Linked DNA regions of Homo sapiens: all the other regions are linked to region 2. Evidence: promoter capture Hi-C in 16 types of primary human blood cells and fetal thymus (Javierre and others, 2016). All regions are on one chromosome and are shown on one strand. Each heading gives the region's core, a stretch centred on a gene start or on the middle of the fragment in contact. The rest is flanking DNA. Distances are from core to core; before and after follow the strand shown. Region 1 has its middle 18 kb from the start of MIR6069. Region 2 holds the start of APOL6 (apolipoprotein L6). Region 3 overlaps RBFOX2 (RNA binding fox-1 homolog 2). Region 4 has its middle 6.7 kb from the start of HMOX1. Region 5 holds the start of MIR3909 (microRNA 3909). Region 6 overlaps RBFOX2 (RNA binding fox-1 homolog 2). Region 7 overlaps RBFOX2 (RNA binding fox-1 homolog 2).

Evidence for each region. Contacts are between HindIII fragments. The CHiCAGO score rates a contact against its expected background, and 5 or more counts as called.
Region 1: a fragment that was not itself captured here is called in contact with the fragment with the promoter of APOL6 in region 2 in 1 of 17 cell types (M0 macrophages); the score reaches 7.6 in M0 macrophages.
Region 3: a contact is called between a fragment that was not itself captured here and the fragment with the promoter of APOL6 in region 2, in 4 of 17 cell types (M1 macrophages, M0 macrophages, M2 macrophages and 1 more). The highest score is 7.2, in M1 macrophages.
Region 4: a contact is called between a fragment that was not itself captured here and the fragment with the promoter of APOL6 in region 2, in 1 of 17 cell types (M0 macrophages). The highest score is 5.7, in M0 macrophages.
Region 5: a fragment that was not itself captured here is called in contact with the fragment with the promoter of APOL6 in region 2 in 1 of 17 cell types (M0 macrophages); the score reaches 6.2 in M0 macrophages.
Region 6: a contact is called between a fragment that was not itself captured here and the fragment with the promoter of APOL6 in region 2, in 6 of 17 cell types (M2 macrophages, M1 macrophages, M0 macrophages and 3 more). The highest score is 12.5, in M2 macrophages.
Region 7: a fragment that was not itself captured here is called in contact with the fragment with the promoter of APOL6 in region 2 in 11 of 17 cell types (M1 macrophages, M0 macrophages, M2 macrophages and 8 more); the score reaches 24.9 in M1 macrophages.

Annotation. Positions count from the first base shown.
Region 1 is chr22:35,353,143-35,356,303 of GRCh38, forward strand. No RefSeq gene overlaps it. Among named protein-coding and RNA genes, the nearest start is that of MIR6069, 18 kb to the left of the region's middle. RefSeq lists enhancers at 1-32, 1-35. The HindIII fragment of the contact is 2,468 bases long and covers 288-2,755 here.
Region 2 is chr22:35,646,772-35,650,006 of GRCh38, forward strand. It overlaps APOL6 (apolipoprotein L6), which reads left to right and starts at 1,675. Exons shown (of 3, transcript NM_030641.4): 1 at 1,675-1,852. RefSeq lists an enhancer at 1,380-1,679. The HindIII fragment of the contact is 8,876 bases long and covers 1-2,810 here.
Region 3 is chr22:35,963,113-35,965,998 of GRCh38, forward strand. The region is part of intron 1 of RBFOX2 (RNA binding fox-1 homolog 2); the gene reads right to left. Among named protein-coding and RNA genes, the nearest start is that of RBFOX2, 64 kb to the right of the region's middle. The HindIII fragment of the contact is 2,415 bases long and covers 104-2,518 here.
Region 4 is chr22:35,372,982-35,375,833 of GRCh38, forward strand. No RefSeq gene overlaps it. Among named protein-coding and RNA genes, the nearest start is that of HMOX1, 6.7 kb to the right of the region's middle. The HindIII fragment of the contact is 1,300 bases long and covers 926-2,225 here.
Region 5 is chr22:35,334,326-35,337,298 of GRCh38, forward strand. TOM1 (target of myb1 membrane trafficking protein) reads left to right here. Exons shown (of 15, transcript NM_005488.3): 11 at 3-123. It overlaps MIR3909 (microRNA 3909), which reads left to right and starts at 1,315; the gene lies at 1,315-1,433. It overlaps MIR6069 (microRNA 6069), which reads right to left and starts at 2,474; the gene lies at 2,396-2,474. RefSeq lists an enhancer at 2,490-2,973. The HindIII fragment of the contact is 2,635 bases long and covers 1-2,594 here.
Region 6 is chr22:35,938,028-35,940,998 of GRCh38, forward strand. It overlaps RBFOX2 (RNA binding fox-1 homolog 2), which reads right to left. Exons shown (of 14, transcript NM_001349999.2): 2 at 820-870. Among named protein-coding and RNA genes, the nearest start is that of RBFOX2, 89 kb to the right of the region's middle. The HindIII fragment of the contact is 1,768 bases long and covers 368-2,135 here.
Region 7 is chr22:35,921,231-35,924,366 of GRCh38, forward strand. The region is part of intron 2 of RBFOX2 (RNA binding fox-1 homolog 2); the gene reads right to left. Among named protein-coding and RNA genes, the nearest start is that of RBFOX2, 110 kb to the right of the region's middle. The HindIII fragment of the contact is 3,625 bases long and covers 1-3,097 here.

The DNA.
Region 1 (3,161 bases), core at 272-2,771, 290 kb before region 2:
CCGAGCTTCCAGCGGTGCACAGACACTGACTTCCTGTTTGATTTGGAGCAAGCCTTCTCCTCTCTCTGGGCCTCAGTTTCCCCATCTGTTAATCGGCTTGATTTAAGAGAGCGTAAGGCCCCTTTGCACTCTGCTTTTCTGCCCTATCAACCCCCAAATTCCATAATCCTCCTTCCAAAAAGGAAAGAAATACGAGGAAAGAAACTCAAATATCTACAAGAGAGGGAAGCAGGACCCCGGGTTTATCTCCCCTCCAGGACCAGCGGCGATAGGGAAACAACTGCCCAAGCTTCAGTGGGACCAATGGGTGGAGGCGGCCACCCACACACCCTGCTGAATGCCCGCACAGGAAGCTGACCGCCTAGGGGCAGGAGGGAAGCGAAACCCAAGCCGGGGACATCCTTGCACCTGCCCTGGGGTACCCCTAGGAAAGGGAAAAGCAAGTGGGTGAACTGAGGAATGGGGGTGCTGCCCATGCTCCCCACAGGACCCTGCCCTCACTGGAGCCCTTGGAAGCTCTGTTAAAAATGAATCTTCAGCCAGGCGCAGTGGCTCACGCCTGTAATCGCAGCACTTTGGGAGGCCGAGGTGGGTGGATCACCCGAGGTCAGGAGTTCAAGACCAGCCTGGCTAACATGGCGAAACCCTGTCTCTACTAAAAATGCAAAAATTAGCCAGGCGTGGTTGTGGGTGTCTGTAATCCCAGCTACCAGGGAGGCTGAGGCAGAAGAATCGCTTGAACCCGGGAGGCGGAGGCTGCAGTGAGCCGAAATCGCGCCACTGTACTCCAGCCTGGGCAACAAGAGTGAGACTCCATCTCAAAAAATATACAAATTAAAAAAAAAAAAAAGAATCTTCATTTTACAAAGGAGGGGGTGAGGTCAGAAAAGTCAACTAGCTAATCCAAAGCCACACAGCCGGCAAGTGGAAACATTGAGTCCTCTTTTCTGGGGAGAAAAGGTCCCTGGGGGATCAGGATGAAGTGCACTCTATTCTGGGCCTGGGGCTGCGCCTAGGTCTGCCTTGGGGCTAGAAAAGTCACTGTGTACATTATCTGTATGAGTAGCCCTGAGCCCTGCAAGCCACTTAGGCTGCAGAGGCCACTGGACCCCTGCAGGGAGAAGGCTGGCTGCTGAGATGGGGCCCTCCCTCAGGATCCCTTCTCAGGCCCAGACCAGTGCAGAGACTTGCCCAAGGCCACACAGCAAATTTGTAAAAGAACTGAAACTAGAATCCCGGTCCTCCATAGCACCTGCCCCGCAGGAGGTGGGCGAATGGAGGACAGCTGGGAAGTCTGTCTTCAGAAGGCCCTCCCCAGCACCCTGCACCGTGCTCTGGGCTCCCACAGAACTTTCAGCCTCAGAGACCAACTAGGCCAGTGGGTTCTAAAACCTTCTCTCCCCAAGGAAATCTTCTATCATGGTCTCTCCCCAAGACTATGGATTTAGAAGAGTTTTGTTTGTTTTGATTTTTGGCCACAAAACATTCCACAATGCATTGAGTTGTTAATATTTTTCCCTTTTGGGCATCAGTAATCAAGACTTTTTTTTTTTTTTTTTTTTGAGACAGAGTCCCGCTGTGTCCCCCAGGCTGGAGTGCAGTGGCGCAATATCGGCTTACTGCAACCTCCGCCTCCCGGGTTCAAGTGATTCTCCTGCCTCAGCCTCCCAAGTAGCTGGGATTACAGACACATGCCACCACGCCTGGCTAATTTTTGTATTTTTAGTAGAGATGGGGTCTCACCATGTTGGCTAGGCTGGTCTCGAGCTCCTGACCTCAAGTGATCCACCCACCTCGACCTCCCAAAGTGCTGGGATTACAGGTGCGAGGCACTGCGCCCGGCAGTAATCAGACTTTTAATACACCAATGCAGTATCTCGTTCCATCCAAAAGTGCTCCAGTTGCCTGGGCAGCCTCATCTGAGGGAACTAACAGCACAGCCTCTGTTTGCCCAGCCCCTCTGGGCCCACCCACTGTTTGGAGCAGAACCCCAACCCAAAAGGGCAGGAGCTGAAGATAGCCATGCTCACTGCTGGCCAGGGGCTCCCCCACGGCTCCTGCCAGCCTTGGCCTTCACACGCATTGGGCATCTCCATCGACGGCCACCCTGGCTTCTGCACCGTCCCCACGTAAACATGGCTCTGCCCTCCCATCCCCTCACCTCAACTCTGCAACACAGGGACCCAGGAGACAGAGGCAAGGAAGGGAGAGTGAAGGAGCTGGCCATACCCTCCTGAAGTGCTAAGGGGAGGGAGGAGGGGATATCAAATTCGATGTGAGATTAAACTTCAAGACTGGACTTTTTTTTTTTTTTTTGAGATGGGATCTCATTCTGTCACCCACGCTGGAGTGTAGTGGCGCTATTTCGGCTCACTGCAGCCTCTGCCTCCTGGGTTCAAGTGATTCTCCTGCCTCAGCCACCCAAGTAGCTGGGATTACAGGCGTGTGCCACTATGTCTGGCTAATTTTTGTGTTTGTAGCAGAGATAGGGTTTCATCATGTTGGCCAGGCTGGTCTGAAACTCCTGAGCTCAAGCAATCCACCCACCTCGGCCTCCCAAAGTGCTGGGATTACATGTGTGAGCCACTGCGCCAAGATTGGACTTTTTTGTACTTGAAAATGACAAGAAAGTTAGCAAAACCACCCAAGATGTCACAAAGGACCCTGGTGGAGGCTGGGCATGGTTGAAGACAATGGTTGGAGAAAAGGAAGCTCTCTCATGTCCATGTTTGTGCACAGGGACTTTGGATCTGCAAGCTTGGGGAGGGAGCTGGAGACAGCTGGACTGCTCTGCTCTTAAGAGGGAGGTGAATCCTACCGGGCCATCTGGAAGAGGGCCTGAGAGCACAGAGACAAGAACGGGGAAAGGGAAGAGAGAGAAGGCAGGAGAGGGTGAGCTACTGGGCCCCAGGCAAAGAGTTGGGGGAGGATCAGAGGTCAACTACTGGGGTAGAGGGAGGGAAGGGAGAGGAGTAGCCAAAAAAGATTCGGAAGAACAGATGCTGTATTAGATTGTTCTCTAGGTTCTGTCTAATGTCACCCCTCTCTGTGGCCCTGAGATCTTTAGTAAATGCTCTGCTCATAAGTATTTGTCAAGAGTAGGGTTTTGGGCCAGGCATGGTGACTCACCCCTGTAATCCCAGCACTTTGGGCGGCAGAGA
Region 2 (3,235 bases), core at 425-2,924:
CTCTTGGGGCGATTGTTTCACAAGAGCCCTGGTGGTAAACACTGCCCCCATCCAATGGCCGGTCTGGCCCCTGAGACTCCCAGGACCGAGCAGTGACCACAACATCTGGGTCCGTTGCCAGGGAAAACAACAGGCAGGCCTGGGATGGCTCAGCGGCCCCAGCCAGGCAGCCAAGTCCTCCTCAAGGTCAGGCTGTGTTTAGCGTGTTCCCCAAGTGTGGGAGGCCAGGAGCAGGGGTGGGTTGTGGAATCCGGGATGCCACGGTTGGAAAGGCCCCTACAAGACCCAACTCAGCAGCCCTTAACCCCTCATTCCTGCTCGTAGGGCCCAGGGACAGGAGGTGGCCTCTATCACAGCAAAGCCAGGACTGGCTAGGTGGGCCGCACCTTCTGCAAAGCAACAGCCTCCAATGTGGTCTCAGCTAGGGGTGGTGACTGGGGACTTCTGGGCATATAAATACAAACAAACCACATGGCTTCTGATCACAATTTGACACAAATGCTAGAGAGACACAGATCTCAGCCCGTAACCTCACTGTGGGCTCATTCTTGTAGACACAGAGCCTAGGACTGGTTCTTAGCTGTGTAATCACAAACAACCCACAACTTCTAGAAGCCTGGGTTTCCTCTTCCTTAAAGTGGGAGACAGAGTATCACAATCCTATATCTCCAATCCTTGAGGCCAGATGCATGTCAGAGTTCCTGATTTGGGGGATTTTTAGAAAGGTAATGGGGTGCAGGTATCGTGTACTATGTAACCCACGCACCCGCAGCAGCCCTCCTCAGTCAAACATATTAATATTTCTGCAGTGACTGTAAATATTCAAATTAAGCAGGAGACATAAAAACCACAGGTGAATTCATGCCAGATCAGGTCAGGTTTTGCCACTAAATGAATAAATTATCATTTTTTTTTAAGTTTTCATTCTGAGGCCAGGTGCGGTGGCTCACGCCTGTAATCCCAGCACTTTGGGAGGCCTAGATGGATGGATCATTTGAGGTCAGCAGTTTGAGACCAGCCTGGCCAACATGGCAAAACCCCATCTCTACTAAAAATACAAAAATCAGCCGGGCGTGGTGGCAGGTGCCTGTAATCTCAGCTACTAGGGAGGCTGAGACAGGGGAATAGCTTGAACGTAGGAGGCGGAGGTTGCAGTGAGCCGAGATCGTGCCATTGCACTCCAGCCTGGGCAACAGAGCGAGACTTCATCTCAAAAAACAATAATAATAATAATAATAAAATAAAGTTTCCATTTTCAGAGGATTCTGCATTCAGAGTTATTAGCCCTTTAATGCTGTGCACCTCATAGGGTTGTTACCCACATCAGCGTCACGTAAGATGCTGTGGAGGAAAGCAGTTTCAGAACAATCAGTGATGACAGCTACTGTGAATCCACTATTCAACAGGCGCCCCATCGCTTGCTCATGGGCTCCTCACCATAGCTCTAAGCCACAGGAGCTATTTTCATACCCCATATAGGTCCATCCTATAACACAGCCAGGACAGAGACGAGAGACTCAGGCCTCCTGACTTGGATTCTGCTCTTTCACCTCCTTGTTCATCCAATTAGAGAAACTGGCAAAAAGGAAACTGAAAGTGACAGCTGGAGCCCATGATTTCCTGGAAGAGCCCTAGAGCTTTGCTTTTTCTCTCCTGCAGCACTTAACCGAAACCAGTTTTGCAATCAATTCCTGTTCAAAGGCCACCCTACTCTTCCTATCCGTCTTTCTCCAGCCCAGACACTCACAGCCCCCTGCCAGACCAGGGGACCTCGGAGAGGCAAGGACAGAGGTTCAGGATCTTCCTCTCCCTCGGGACCCAAGGCCACAAAGGAGAGCTCCGTGGAGAGAAGGTGAGACGGCGGGCAGAAGTCGGGGGAGGAGGGGGCTGCCGCTCTGGTCCCTGAAGGACAGAGCCCCCAAGGGGTTGGCTTTAGGCACCTGACTCAGGGAAAAGAGCTGCTGTGAAAGCAGCGGGGTTCAAATGCCAGCCAGAGCTTGAGGAGAGTCTGAGGATTAACTTCTCCTGTGTTAATCCTGGTAGGTTTCCCTCCCTTACAGCCATTTCAGGGTTAAATTGAAACATGCTAAAGCATGCGATGTGACTAGCCAAGTTGCATTTGTCCCTCCACTGCTGGGGATCCGAGGGCTTAGGCAGAGGGGACCTGGCCCTTAGAAAGCAGATGATTACATCAGCCACAGGCGTTTCCCTAGAAATTCAGTAGAGGAGTGGTTTAGGGGTGTCATCTCACAAGAAAAAAGGTGCTGGGTGAGTTGTCTAGAAACTGCAAAGCCAACCTACAGAGTTTTCTAGATTGTAGATTTATGTGAAGTTGTTTGGGGAAGAGGGTGAGGGAGTTTGTGATAAATATTAGGGCGACTAGGCCAGGCGCAGTGGCTCATGCCTGTAATCCCAGCATTTTGGGAGGCTAAGGCAAGCGGATTGCTTGAGCCCAAGAGTTTGAGACCAGCATGGGCAACATAGTGAGACCCCGTCTCTACAAAAAATCAAAAAATAGCTGGGCGTGATGGTGCACACCTGTAGTCCCAGCTACTTGGGAGGGTGCTGAGGTGGAAGGATCACTTGAACCCAGGAAGTCAAGAATGCAGTGAGCAGTGATCGCACCACTGCACTCCAGCCTGGGCAACAGAGTGAGACCCGGTCTCAAAAAAAAAAAAAAAAATCTAGGGAGGTTATCTTGAAGCTGTGTTTTCAAAGTAAGCAGATTTTTCTTACTTAGATTGTGTATCTGCAGAAGTTGGTTTTGTGGGGGAAGGCAGGTAAGGAAAGACTGTCATAAATATCCTGTAAGCTTTCAAATGAAAGTAAGTTCTCAAATCCTCTTCCAATAAACCTCTCACAAGCAAATCCTCTCGCAACCACCAAGAGCAGGTCAGAGGGGATGGAATGGGACCTGCTTAGATGAGTTTCCTGCTGTTACCTTTGCCCTGCATCCCATAGGACTAATGTAAAAAAATGAGAGAGGTATTGGCGGACGCTGGTAAAAAATGGGGTTCCAGACCAGAGTCTCTTACCCCCAGCAACCTTGTCATGTTCAACCAGGTGATCCCTGGTTGTGGGGGCTGTCCTCTGCATCGTAGGGTGCTTGGCAGCATCCCTGGCCTCTGCCCTCTACATACCAACAGCAGTACCCTCTCCAGCTGAGACCATCAAAAATGTTTCCAGATATTAGCAGTGTCCCTGAGGAGCAAACACGCCCTGTTTGGGACCAACT
Region 3 (2,886 bases), core at 61-2,560, 320 kb after region 2:
TAATAACAGTCATCTACCCCACAGAAAACTTAAACAATTTAGAACAATTAGAGAAGTCAAAAGAGTCAAGATGCCTCTAGTTAACACACAGGCATCTAGAAAAAGCTTTATAACTGTTGTGGAAAACAGCAAAGGATGAAGCACATGCTAACAACTGAAACCCACATTGCAGTGCGGGGTGGGGGACAATATGATTAGCCCATCTCTGAGATATTTGTTTTCTTATTTCGCTCCTTGTTGACCTTAACAAGCCATTCCTTGTGTGAAAGCATTCCTATGGACACCATGGTTCCACTGGCTAAGTATTAAGTATGATAAGCACTAATAATTAATTAGTATTAAAAGCACTAATAATTATTAAGTATAATAAGCACAGTCACCTTATTCTACAAGAGGGAGACTAAAGCAGTTTCTGAGAGTGCCCATCAACTCAATTACTAAACTTGACTTATTATGAAGAAATCTATCAGCAATGGCCTAGACTAAGTGGAAAGTTGCAAAACAAAGCTCCATTTATCTACTCTTTGACTCAAACGTACATTAAGAGCACTTATTACGTTCCAAGAGTTTTATATGTGTCATCGCTATTTCAAAAAAATAAAAACACCAACACTAGTATATATTCTTTTTGTTGTTGTTGTTGTTGTTTTTGCAATGGAGTCTCACTCTGTCGCCCAGGCTGGAGTGCGGTCGTGCCATCTCAGCTCACTGCAACCTCTGCCTCCCGGATTCAAGCAATTCTCCTGCCTCAGCCTCCTGAGTAGCTGGGATTACAGGCAAGCGCCACCGGGCCTGGGTAATTTTTGTATTTTTAGTACAGATGGGGTTACACCATATTGGCCAGGCTGGTCTCGAACTCCTGACCTCAGTCGATTTCCACACCTCGGCCTTCCAAAGTGCTGGGATTACAGGTGTGAGCCACTATGCCCTGCCTAGTATACATTCTTACTCCACTTTGCAAACACAGAAACAGAGTTCCAGTGATGTCAAGGTGACCATGGTTATATACTCATTATTTCATTTTTTTTAAAAAGCCAGGATTCTAACCCAGATCTGTTTGGATTCCAAAGCCTGTGCATTTTTCCACTTAGCTTCCTATTTTCAGATAGTGAGGGTTGGAAAAAAACATCTAGAAATCATTTTACATCTGTGTTCTCTTATGCCATCGATAAAATATAGGACACTTGACATCAAGGTCAAAGTCATACTTTTTATGTATTACTAACAGTATTAAACTCTAAGTAGGCACTCAATACTTATTAATTTATTATTCTAATCCTATTATTCTAAACTTCTGGACAAACGGCAATGATTCTACTCAGATCTTTTTAAATTAAAATTGGCTTGAGAAATTACATGCTGAAATGAAATGACAAAACTTCAGATAACATTCTGGAATTAATTTCATAATATTTGAGATGAAAAAAATTATCACTGTCATAATGCCTACACTGGCCCAGTTATAATGTCATAATACCTACACAGTCTATTTGTTGGTTTTAATCCACAAACCCTAATGCAGTCAGGATCTATACATTAGATTTATGATTTCTACATTCCACATATAGAACCAGAGCATTTCTTCAGGGATTCCACTAAAATTAAATCAGCTGATTAGAGGACCATGCTAAAGAGGCCAAGGTCACGTGTCTGCTACCCATGTGAACCAGTTAGCATCATTCTCTCCTACAGCCACAACATACACCCTGTTGTAAACATATATCCTTTTTTACTCGGAAATTAAGGCAAACAATCACCTTTTCTGGAAAAAAAATGTATCTACTGATGTCAAATATTATAATCAGATTTTATTCTTTAGAAAATAGTTATTGTCTTTCAAATAATATTTTCAATCATCCATTCTTTCTTCCAATACTTACTGAATACTTACCACACACCAGTCGATAATCTCAAAAGGCTGGCCCCAAAGAACAAATAAATAGAGCTATGCGTGGTATTCAATATAGCCAAGGTGTATATAGGTATGGTGACAGCACACAGAAGGAAAGGCTACTTTTAGAAGATGCCATGGAGAATGAGCAGGAGTTCATTTAAGTAAATGAGGAAGGTAAGAGCATTCCATGGAGGGAGAACAAAGATTTACAAAGGGATGGTCATAAGACAACATAACAAACTTGAACTTTGAAGAATTTTACTAAGGCCAGGTTCAGAATTGAGAGATATGACCAGCTAAGAGAAGGCAAGGCAACATCTTTTAGATTTTCTACCTAACCCAAATTAGGTTTTCCTAAAATGCCTTACTTTGAGTTAGATTTCCACAGAGTAAAAGGGGGGAAAAAAATTAATATTATGGAGATTTGTTCTCCTCATAGTCTCCATGATAAGAATAATGGCCAAAATGAGGTACATCCTTCTGAAAATGAAGCTGTTAGTGGCTGAGACCCTCAATGAAGAGGTTCTTTTGTCTGCAGAGCAAAATCCAAATCTGCTGCCTTATTAGGTAGAATGAAAATGTCCTTCTTATTCTTGGAGAATTAGTTTAAAAAGTGGTCAATGAAGCTTATTCATCAATTCTACTTTCCTGTGGCTGTTTGAAACAGCATGTTGAATATCTGACAAGCAAATTTACATTAACTTTAAAAAGCACCTTCATCCCCACATAACACCCCAACACATAAACACAAAAATGTATGTGCACACTCACATCCTACAAGCTCGACAGGAAAAGGATCAGTATGTGTATGAAGGGAAAGCTATCTATCAGCTGTAGCAATCACAGAACGCAAGTAGAAGAAAGTAAACTTTCTACCAAAGCGATTACATATACAGAAATAGGCAAAAAACCTAAGTGCATAACTCAATGAATTTTCACAAAGTGACCATCCCCCCGCCCCCTGCCATGTAACTAACACCTAGGCCAAGAAA
Region 4 (2,852 bases), core at 326-2,825, 270 kb before region 2:
TTTGGATTAAGGATCATTATTATTATTATTATTATTATTTTGAGACAGGGTCTCTGTCACCCAAGCTGCAGTGCAGTGGCACAATCTCGGCTCACTGCAACCTCTGCCTCCTAGGTTCAAGCGATTCTCGTGCCTCAGCCTCCCAAGTAGCTGCGATTACAGGTGTGTGCCACCACTCCCCATTCATTGATTAAGGATTATTTTGAGCTGGCCAGGCGTGGTGGCACATGCCTGTAATCCCAGCACTTGGGGAGGCCACTGTGGGGGGATTGCTTGAGCTCAGGAGTTCCAGACCAGCTTGGGCAACGTGGTGAAACCTTGTCTCTACAAAAAATACAAAATATAAAAAATTTGCCAGGCATGGTGGTGCATGTCTATAATCCCAGCTACTTGGGAGGCTGAGGCAGGAGGATTGCTTGAGCCCAGGAGATTGAGGTTGCAGACCACTACACTCCAGCCTGGGAAACAGAGTGAGACTCTGTCTCAAAAAAAAGGATTATTTTGGGATAAAGGCACTTTAAAAACAAACAAACAAAATCAGGTGCAAAAAGGTTGCTGTGGGTTGGGCATGGTCGCTCAGGCCTGTCATCCCAGCACTTTGGGAGGCAAAGGCAGGCAGACCACCTGAGGTCAGGAGTTCGAGACCAGCCTGACCAACTTGGAGAAACCTCATCTCTACTAAAAATACAAAATTATCCGGGCGTGGTGGCGCATGCCTGTAATCCCAGCTACTAGGGAGGCTGAGGTAGGAGAATTGCGTGAACCTGGGAGGCAGAGGTTGCAGTGAGCCTCTGACCTTCTTTTTTTCTTCCTGAAAGCAAGAGATGAAATTCCATATGGAAGACTTTTCTCTATACGAGGAGAAAATTAGCATTCCTTTCATCCATGGCAGGAAGTTGAAGCCAAAATAAATCTGTACAAACAAAGCTTGTTAAAGCCAGCTCTTCCTAGTCTCTTCTCTACCCAGTTAACCACCCTAACCCACACCCACGCCACTTTGCCTTGTCACGTTTTCACAGTTTACTACTCTGTGTCCAAATCTGCATGTAAGTGTTTGGCTCTGTTTCCTTGAGTCTTCTTTTCCTTAGGACGGCTCACGTGTTATGTAAATGTACGTTAAATAAATGTGTATGCTTTTCTCCTACTAATCTGTCTCATGTCAGTTTAATTCTCAGGCCCAGCAGAAAACTCTAAAAGGGTATAGGTAAAATTTTGCCTCCTCTACAATATAATGAATTTATATCGAAGCCAGATTTCCTGATTTTTATAACCATATGTCAGGGACTGCACTCCAGATATAATACATGCTAAATAATTTGGGGGTAGATAGGCATGGTGGCTCACACCTGTAATCCCAGCACTCTGAGACACCAAGGCAGAAGGACTGCCCCTGACGTCAGGAGTTGGAGTCCAGCCTGGGCAAAATAGCAAGACCCCATCTCTACTAAAAATGAAAAAAATTATCCAGGTGTGGCGGCATGAGCCTATAGTCCTAGATACTCAGGAGATGGAGGCAGGAGGAGATATATATATCTGTATATATTCAAAAATATATATGCATAGTATATCAAGAGAGAATACGATAAAGCAAATGTGACAAAATGCTAACAACTGGTGAATCTGGATGAAGGTGTATAGAAATTCTCTGTACTATGCTTGCGACTTTTCTGGACATTTGAAATTATTTCGGAGAAGTTTACTTTTTGAGGAAAAGGTAAATACAGGCCGAGCGCAGTGGCTCACGCCTGTAATCTCAGCACTTTGGGAGGCCAAGGCAGGTGGATCACCTAAGGTCAGGAGTTCGAGACCAGCCTGGCCAACATGGTGAAACCCTATCTCTACTAAAAATGTACAAATTAGCTGGGCATGGTGGTGCATGCCTGTAATCCCAACTACTCAGAGGCTGAGGGAGGAGAATCGCTTGAACCCAGGAGGCAGAGGTTGCAATGAGCCGAGATAGTGCCATTGCACTCCAGCCTGGGCAACAAGAGCGAAATTCCATCTAAAAAAAAAAAAGGTAAATATGAAGAACCTGAGATTCAAAACTCCTGACTGAAATCAAGGTTTGTTGGATGTTAGTGACCCCCGCCCTACTGCAGAATCATCCAGAAATTTCTAGATAGGAAAAAGGCTCTGGCTGAATCATGAAAGGGGAGCTGGATGCCTCTCTGACCAACATAACGGTTAACATTTACCGTGTGCCTCCTCTGCCAAGCCTCACTGTAAGCTTCTTACATGCATCAAACTGATTTCATGCTCACCACATCCCCTTGAGTCAATGCTGTTATTATTCCTCATTTTGTCAGATGAGGAAATAAAAGCTTAGGGTGTTCCAGTGTACACAGATGGGAAGTCATGGATCCTGGATTTGACTGCAGTCCTTTTGCCTAGAGTTTATTGCTTTAGCTAGTCTATACTATCCTAATGGTACCTTGATCAGGTTGAACCAGGGCATACCAGATCTGGGAGGTATAGTCAGGCTCCATTTTGGCAAGACTGGCCTGGTAGTCTGCATCCTTCAAAGGCTAGAATGCCTTCTTGTCTGGCTGTGGGTCTTCGGTCACTGGGTACGTGCTAATAGAGGCTGCACGATGTTTGGAAAAGATGTTGCCATTCTATGCCCTTTGCTGCCTCGGGCCCAGGGGCTCCTAGGGCAGCGATGCTGTGGAATCTGAGTGAGCCAGACACACTTGGCCTCAAATCCCGGGTGAGCTGTGTGATATTAGGCAGGGAATTTCACCCTGCTTGCTAAGCCTCGTTGATTAAATATGTAGTGAAAGCCTGGCTTGTGCTAAGGGCATAAGAAGGTGAATCTGACATGGCCCTTGCTGACTTCAAGGAGCTCACAGTCA
Region 5 (2,973 bases), core at 27-2,526, 310 kb before region 2:
AGACCTGGGCTCCAGCAGTGTGAGAGCTGGCCTGCAGTCTCTGGAGGCCTCTGGTCGACTGGAAGATGAGTTTGACATGTTTGCGCTGACACGGGGCAGCTCACTGGCTGACCAACGGAAAGAGTGAGTGGCCTGGCCCTGCCCTGGTCCCCTGCAGTTCGGGTGGCTCTCGGGGTTCTGGAACCCGGTTTTATGGTGGCACACCATGAGGAAGGGCACACGGACCCTGCTTAGTAAGCACGCCCTTAGTATCCCCTAAGTCAGTCCAGCATGGCCTGGGAGCCCTGTGGTCAGTTGACAGACTGCGCTCCCCACAGGCCATGCTGGGTGGGGGAGGGGGAGCCTAATGACCCACTGTATGCCAGAATCTTACATAGTCTGATCAGAGGGGGAAACTGAGGCACAGAGAGGGGCAGGCTCATTTGCCCCAGGTCAAGGAGCTAATATTTGGCAGCACTAGGTTAGGAGCCTAGGGCTGTCTGGTTCCAAAACACAGTGTCTCCACCCCCCGCCCCCCTCCCTGCACTGTGTACCGCATAGTAAGCCCTCCAGGAGCAGGGAAGTTTCCTGATAAATCCTCAGGGACTTTCAAGTCAAGTCTTTTTCTGTTGTTCCATAGCCACCGTTAATTTCCAGAGAAGATTAAGCAGGTTCTGTCAGCCTTGCCCCAGAGCTGGGGCTCTGCCCTTCCCTGTGCACCGTGCATTTTCAGGGGGTACTTTCAGCAGCATAGGCACGTGGCCTGAGTGTGTCCACCAGGGTCTGACCCCTTGCCGGGACCTGCGGGAGAACTGGCCCCGTACAGGCTTGTAAGAGGAACAGTCTGCTTGATGTTTTCTTCAGCCTTTTGCCCACTGTGACCCCCAGGGCTGAGCTGTGGGCAGCCAGGATTCTTATAGCTAAGGAAAGTTCTAGATTATGGGATCTTCCCACTGACCCCACTCAGCTCCTTAGAGGTCATTCTGGTGTCTTTTGGAACTTTGTCAATGGGCCTCCAGAGAGCCCAGGGATAACCTCTCCACACCCACAAATCCAGGTCCAGGCTGTAGCCTGCTAGGTCCTTAGGGCTGCCCTGGCTGTTAGCTGTATCTTTCTTTAGTCTGGGCAGAGTCTGTACTTTTAAGCCCAGGTACCCTGGGACCAGCAGCTGTTGCCATGGAGTTAGGGGTGCTGCCGAGGCTACCCTGCAAAGGCAAGCTAATGAGTGTGATGGGACTTGCAGCCAGACACGCCCATCCACAGAGGCCCCAGCAGGCAACACTGCTGGCCATACTGGAGAACCCTGGCGCCTGCCCTGGTCACCAGCCTGGCTGAGGTATGCTGTTGCGCTGTCCTTCCTCTGGGGAGCAGGCTCCGGGGGACAGGGAAAAGCACACAAGGAACTTGTCCTCTAGGGCCTGCAGTCTCATGGGAGAGTGACATGCACCAGGACCACCGCTGTGAAGGGCTAAGTGCTGTCCTGGAGGGGGCACCAGGCTCTGTGGACACAGAGGAGGGAGCATGCAACTCTGCGGAGGGTACTCAGAGCTGGACCAGGTGCTGGGTGATAGGAAGGCCATTTCAGGCACTAGGAACAGCATGTGCAAAGTCTCAGAGGCAGGGCGGGAGAGAGGTGCCCTGGCTCCCGCACAGCAGCTGGGAAAGATGCTCTTCACACAGGGAAGGGGGCAGGATGCTGAGAGGGTGGTGGGGCCCACTGGGCTACAGAGAGGCAGTTGATTTTATTCTAACATGAGCAGGAGGGAGCACAGGAAGGATCTTTTTTCTTATCAGATTTTCATCTTTGAAACTGCCTTCAGCTGAGCACAGCTGAAATGACATCATGCACCTTCTCAGGCCATTGGTTCTCCTGCAGGCCCTCCCCAGGGCTTGGTTTCCACCCTGGCAGAAAACATCCAGCAAGGTCAGGCGTGGACCTGAGCATCCATTTCGTCTTCCCTTTGTTCTCCTGCCTGGCTGGCCCCCTTAAATGCTTCTGGTGGATCTTCCAGCTCTGGTCACCTGACTGGCCTTTTCTGCCAGCTTGGTGTCCAGCCCGCTCCTCCCTGTACCTGCCTGGCTCCCCACTTCACACCAGCCTGCAACCAGCTCTGCCCTGGCTGGCAGGGAAACCAGCTCCTTATCAGCCGCTGTTTCTGCTCCAGCCTTGACCACAGCTGGCACCGTCACAGCCTTCCTGCAGCCAGTCCTATCCACTCAATGCCAAGGAGTAGCAGGGCTTCTGGGCGAGCCACAGCAGAGACGCCTCGGCTAGGCCTTCACAAAGGCAGGGGTGTCCTTCCCCCGCTTTGTCCGCATCTTCGTCAGTGCTGCTGTACACAGAGGCCTTCTCTACAAGGAGCACTTAGACAAGTGTCACCCCAGTGGCCCAGGTGCAGCCCCTGCCCACCAGCCCCACTGGGACCACCTAAGGAGTGACCCTCCACCCTCCTGCACTGGGCAGGGGGCAGCAGGCCCTAGCCCAGGGGTCACCACCCAGTGCAGGAGGTGCGGGCTTCCTCCAGGGAAGTGCTTGGCCCTCCACCACCACAGGCATGGCCTTCAGGGACAGCTGGGCTTCAGGGCCATGTGTGGGCAGGGGTGGCGAGGAGCTAAGCTTAGGAAGGGCAGATAGTTCTTTTTTTTTTTTTTTTGAGCCGGAGTCTCGCTCTGTCTCTCAGGCTGGAGTGCAGTGGCGCTTGCAGAGTGCAAGCTCCACCTCCTGGGTTCACGCCATTCTCCTGCCTCAGCCTCCCGAGTAGCTGGGGACTACAGGCGCCCACCACCACACCTGGCTAATTTTTTGTATTTTTAGTAGAGACGGGGTTTCACCATGTTAGCCAGCATGGTCTCGATCTCCTGACCTCGTGATCCGCGCGCCTTGGCCTCCCAAAGTGCTGGGATTTCAGCCACTGCACCTGGCCCAGATAGTTGTTTTGAGTGAAGGGAAATCATGGGTTTCTGCGTGTTCTGGGGCTGGGCATGGCTTCTTCA
Region 6 (2,971 bases), core at 2-2,501, 290 kb after region 2:
CAACCCTGTAAGGAATAATGGCATTCCAAGATATTTCTAGGAGCTACCCTTTCAAATCTCCTGAAGAACGTCAATATCCCCAAACATCAAAGATACAAATTTCTTTCAGAGGCGAGGTGATTTAAGCCACACCATTTCTCTAAGAGGAAGCCTTACCTGTTCTTCTATCCTAACTCTGTTTCAACGTCATGGGCTCAAGTATTCAAACAACAAAAAGATAGGGAAGGCATTTTACACACTTGCCTAAACCATACTGAGGGTGTCTCGTAGGAAGCAATTCTGCTCTGACCCATAATAGGGCCTGGGCTTTTCCAGTCATCCTCCCATCTAACAAAGAAAGGTGGCAGAAACTTTGCTTTCTCAGGCAAGCTTTCCCTGATTAAAACCATAAGGCTGAATTCCCCCAGGGAGGAGAATGGAATTTTCTTGCTACAGATCATTACAAGGACTCAAAAACTCTGTGCAGGCAGGGGCTAACTGGCAGGTAATAAAGAGACAAGTCCAGCATTCAGAATTATAAGGCATCAAGAAAACCAGGTCAAAAAATTATTATGTAGCCTGGAGAAGAAAATACAAAACCAATCATGACTGTGCTTGAGTGATTATTTTCTCTTCTAATATCCACAATTTTAATAACATAATACTTATAGAATTTAAAAATATGCTTAATTTACATCTGTAAAAGTAAATTCACTGCTGAAACAAGCCACATTTCCTTTCAAAGTAAGTAATTTCAGGAAATGCTCTCTATCATAGCAACCCTTTGATGAAACACACCACACACATACATCATCTGAGTTACAAACAGCAGATACCAACCTGGCTGTCCCGCGCTGGGAATCCATGATAACCTGGAGTCAGAGGCTCGTTCTATGAGAAAGACAAGAAAAATATCAAACCATGAGATGAAAGAAAATGTTAGGCATAATCAAAATCATCCAAACTGATCAAATATAAATTCCTGCCCTGGTTCCTAAAATGTTCCATTAACTGTATTCCACCCTACCTAAGTGTATATATCTCCTCGTTAAGCCTCTACACTGGCAAAAACAAAAAACAGTATTTGCTTAGGAGCACTATTCATAAAAACTATTTCTTCCTTATGCAGCTAAATCTGTTTCCTTTCCAGTATATCTTAGGCAGGGTGCTACTGCGACTGGGGTCAGAGTTAATTCCTAACTTCATCATACACTGTGGGACTTCAGCATCCCCAGCCCCAACTCACACTAAGCCGTTAGCACCCCTAAACACTAGGATAACCAAAAACTTGTTGGTTTATTTCCAAATGTCCCCTGGATGGAAAGGGGACAAGTACCAACCCTGCTGAGAACTGCCTCTTAACCCAGAAAAGTTTTAGGTCTTCGTCTCTATCAGCCTGTTTCCCCTCAGTTTTTACTTTTTTATTTATTTATTTTTTGTTTTATCCCCTCAGTTCTTTGAAATCTGGATGAAATCTGACCTCTGTTCAAGACTTCCTCTACTACTCTATATCATCCTATGGACTCAAGTGACTCCTCCTAATATTTAATATTTACTTAGCTTACTTGTGCAGCTTACTTTTTATGTTACTTATGATTCTAATTAACCTTATTTTTTAAAGGTATATCATGTTGAGTATCTGTCTCATTTTCACTTTAAACCACTAAGTCAAGATCCTTGAGGGCAAGGATGATAGCTAATAAAAGCCATGCAAACCCTAATTTAGTATAAGGTCATATAACATGAACACTCATTTCCAGCTTACTTGACCCATTCAATCATTCAGTTAATATATACTAATATTAATATTTTCCAAGCACTGTTAGTCGACTGATGGAGTAAAAAAAGATGAATTAAAAATAAGGCCCTTGCTTTCAAGGGAACTTTTAAATGAGGGAAGATGCACGTGCACACGAAGGAGTAAATGAGAACATACATTGCTTTTGTAATTTTCAAAGTGCTCAACATTGCTACTTAGATATTCATCCTCTTCTTCCATTCACTGTACTTTCATTCCTACTAGCAGAACAGCGTAAAAGAAATTTTCATTGATAGGACTTTTGAATATAACAATAGAGTAAACTTTCCACTAATTGGTAGGTTGACTATATTCAGATATTTGATAGTCAAAAGCATGGAAGTCTGAAGACAACTTAAGCTTACTGCAGAGACCCTGTGTCTTGTTCATCATGGTTTCCCTGAGATCTAGCACAGTATCTAACACATGTAGACACCCAAAAGAATGTGTAATAAATAAATGGAGCTAAATAACCAGAAAATGTGTAGGAATTCAGACAGTTCTGCAAAAGAGATGTGCAAATGGCCAGTAAGTACATGAAGAGATGCTCAACATCATAAGTCATTATGCAAATCAAAACCACATTGAGATAAAACTCACACTCATCAGAATGGTTATAAACAAAATGCCAGACAACAATAAGTATTGTCAAAGACATGGAGAAATCAGAATTCTTCTACACTGCGGGTGGGAATGTAAAATGGTATAGCTGCTCTGGAAACAGTTGGATAGTCCTTCTATTAAACATAGAGTTATATGACCCAGCAATTCCACACCTGGGTATGTAACTAAGAAAACTGAAAACATATGTCCACACAAAATAATATACATGAATGTTCATAGCAGCATTATTTCATAATAACCAAACAGCAGAAAAAAACCAAAATGTCCGTCGATTGATGAATGGATAAATGAAGTATGGTACATCCATAGTGGAATATTATTCAGTAATTTTAAAAATAAAGTACAGATACAACACAGATGAATACTGAAAACACCATGCTTGAAAACAGACACAAAAGGCCACAAATTATATAATTTGATTTGTATGAAATATCAAGAATAGGCAGATTATTCATAGAGGCAGAATATAAATTAGTGGTTCCAGGGACTAGCGGGAAGAAATGAGCAGTGACTGCTAACGGCTACCAGGTTTATCTGGAGGGAGATGACAATGTTCTGGAGTTAGATTTT
Region 7 (3,136 bases), core at 35-2,534, 270 kb after region 2:
CCAAGTACTTGGCACATAGTCTTCCATAAATACCAGTGCCCTTAACTCTTCCACTCCTTTACCCTATGACAGTGGTTCTCAAGTTGAGTGTGTATAAGAATTACCAAAGCATGTTAAAACAGATTACTGGACCCCATCCTCAGAGTTTCTGATTCAGTAAGTCTGGGGAAGAGGCAGAGACCATGAATAAAGGTAAGTTCCCAGGTGATGCTGATGCGGCTGGATTTGAAGCCACACTTTGAGGATACTGCTCTAGGCAATAAGACTTACAAAGTCTTCTTACAACATGTTATACAGGTATGAAGTGCTCTTTCACATCAAAAGTATTTCAGGAATACATGCTCACTGGATACTGAATTAAATTAGAAGCTAATACTGCACATCCACCCAAAAGGCCAACCTTACAACATGGGATAATTCACCCCAGCACATTGAGGGAATTGGTCTTCCACTTAAAGCAGTCAGCAAATAACAATTATTAACACTGCATTTAGAATATTCTGGTTCCAGCATGGGAGAAAACATGAGAATGCAGACACAGATCAGACAAATGAAGAGATGGACAAGAGAATCCACTGCAAGAAGTTCTGTGCCTGTCTGGTAAATTCATCTGGGGCAGAGGGGCAGATTCTGTTGTGTCACAGAACACTTGCTTTGCTCTGGGTGCCCTCTGTTGACAAAAACTGACATAGCCACTTCCTTCCCTCCCTTTTCTCCTCCCACCCTAGGGCCAAGAGTCCCACTAGTGTGACTCAGACTTGAGGCAAGGTTTCCAGTTAGAAAATTTTCCTAAGCCCATATGTAGGCAAGACAGACCTTTCCTTCCTCCAGCTTTCCTAAGTCCCCTTCTCTGTGTGCTTGTATCTGCAGCTTATCTCCAAACAGGTTAATTGTTTCAGGACCATGGAACAAAAAGTGAACAGCATTTAGCATAATGATATGTGAAATTTAAATCACAATTGCATTTCATTTTAGAAATGGCTAGTATTCACACAGAGGGAATAAACTGAGTTTGTAAATAGTGTCAAATACAATGTGAAACTCTGTTGGTATTAAGAATACTGATAAGGCCGGGCATGGTGGCTCATGCCTGTAATCCCAGCACTTTGGGAGGCCATCGCGGGCAGATCACGAGGTCAGGAGTTCGAGGCCAGCCTGACCAACATAGTGAAACCCCATCTCTACTAAAAATACAAAAATTAGCCGGGCATGGTGGCTAATTTTCCAGCTAGTCAGAAGGCTGAGGCAGAAGAATTGCTTGAACCTGGGAGGCAGAGGTTGCAGTCAGCCAAGATTGCGCCACTGCACTCCAGACTGGGTGACAGAGCTAGACTCCATTTCAAAAAAAAAAAAAACTAGACATGTCTAAATCAGGACTTTGGTCTATGGGCTACTTGTTTTTGTAGAACCCACACACAGACTACCAGCTAAGATAGCTTTTACATCTTGTAATGATTGAAAGAAAAAATCAAAAGAAAAATGACATTTCATGACATATAAAAATTATATGAAATTAAAATTTCGGTACCCACAAATAAAGTTTTACTAGAATAGAGCCACAATCTTTTGTTTACTATAATCTAAGCCTGCTTCCCTGCTACCGTGCCAGAGTTCCTGAGTAGCTCTAACAGAGACCATATGGCCCAGATGCTCTCAGATGCTTTACAGAAAGTTTGCCCCCTCCTGTTTTAAACTATTGATAAATGTGACACCTGAACCTTCAGTCAGGTATGAAGTGCTGGGTTTGAAGTCCTATGGCTCTGTCTTAGCAATGACTTCCCCCAACATTTAGTGTGAGTCCTGCACGTGGTGAGGGGTCAGCCTACACTGCCTAACACACTCCCCTTGCATCCACAGAAGCTGAAGGTACTGTGATAGATTTCTGGCATGTTTTTTGGCTAATACTTATCAGCAATCCTATAAAAGCATCCCATCTTACAAATGAGGAAGTAAGCCTAAGGGAAGTTAAGTATCAGTCCAAACTGGAATTTGAACTCAGGTCTGTCTGACACCAGAGTTCTTTGATCATTCCTCACTGGTTTTCAAACTGTCTTCCAGTCAGCAGAGCCTTATGGGGGAAAGGGCTCCAGGCCTTTCATATCTTTTTTTTCTTTTTTCTTTTTCCTTTTATTTCCCCAACTTCTTACACTTCCATATTGTTTTAGAGATAGGGTCTTTTGTCGCCCAGGCTGGAGTGCACTGGCACAGTCAGCTCACTGAAGCCTCGAACTCCTAGGTTCAGGCCATCCTCTTGCCTCAGCCTCTAGAGTAGCTGAGACTACAGGTGCACACCACCACATCTGGCTAACTTCCAAATCTTTTCTAGGAGGACCATTCCATTTGCCTTTTTAATAAATTGTGGCCAAGGAATTGGTTTTTTTTAAAAAGCCAATTTTATGCCACTTATTACCACCCTTGGCAAATCTCTCAGGAAACTGCAAATCTTGATTTCCTCATCTGCCAATGGAGATTAAAACCCTTCCCCCCCACCCAAATAATAAAGACTCACTGGGGTCTTACCAAAGATCAAATGAGAATGGGTATGAAAGCAATACCCATTACAGGTATTACAGCAATACCTGTAAACTATACAGGACTATAGATACATAACACATAACTATCACCCCTTAGTAAATAGGGAAGCAAGTGGGAAGCAAGTGGGGAACATAATGTTTGCTGCTGAGCAAAGAAAAATTAAGCATGCAAGTAAAATGCAAAAAAAAAAAAATTCAAATAAAAGTAAATAAATGCCCAGTGCAAATATCAACCCTGGAATTTAACACATTTATTTTAAAACCCAGATTCACTCATTAACAACTACATAGCCTTGGACAATGACTTAATCCCTTTGAGCCTTGGTTTCCTCACCTGCAAATGGGATTTAAAAACTACTTGCTTTATACAGTGCCTGCACATAGTCAGTATTCCACCTGTTAGCCCTCTTTTCATTAGGACACCCCCTGTCCCATGCCGAGACGTGTGTTACTCTGAAATTAAGATAATGTATGGGTTCCCTGTACCAATAATAGAATACCAGAATTAAAGAGCTAAAAGTATCTTTATCTTAAACGATCCTGTGATCCACACGACACCACAAAGCTTGTGAGAGCACAGGCTAAAGACACACTAAGGGAAC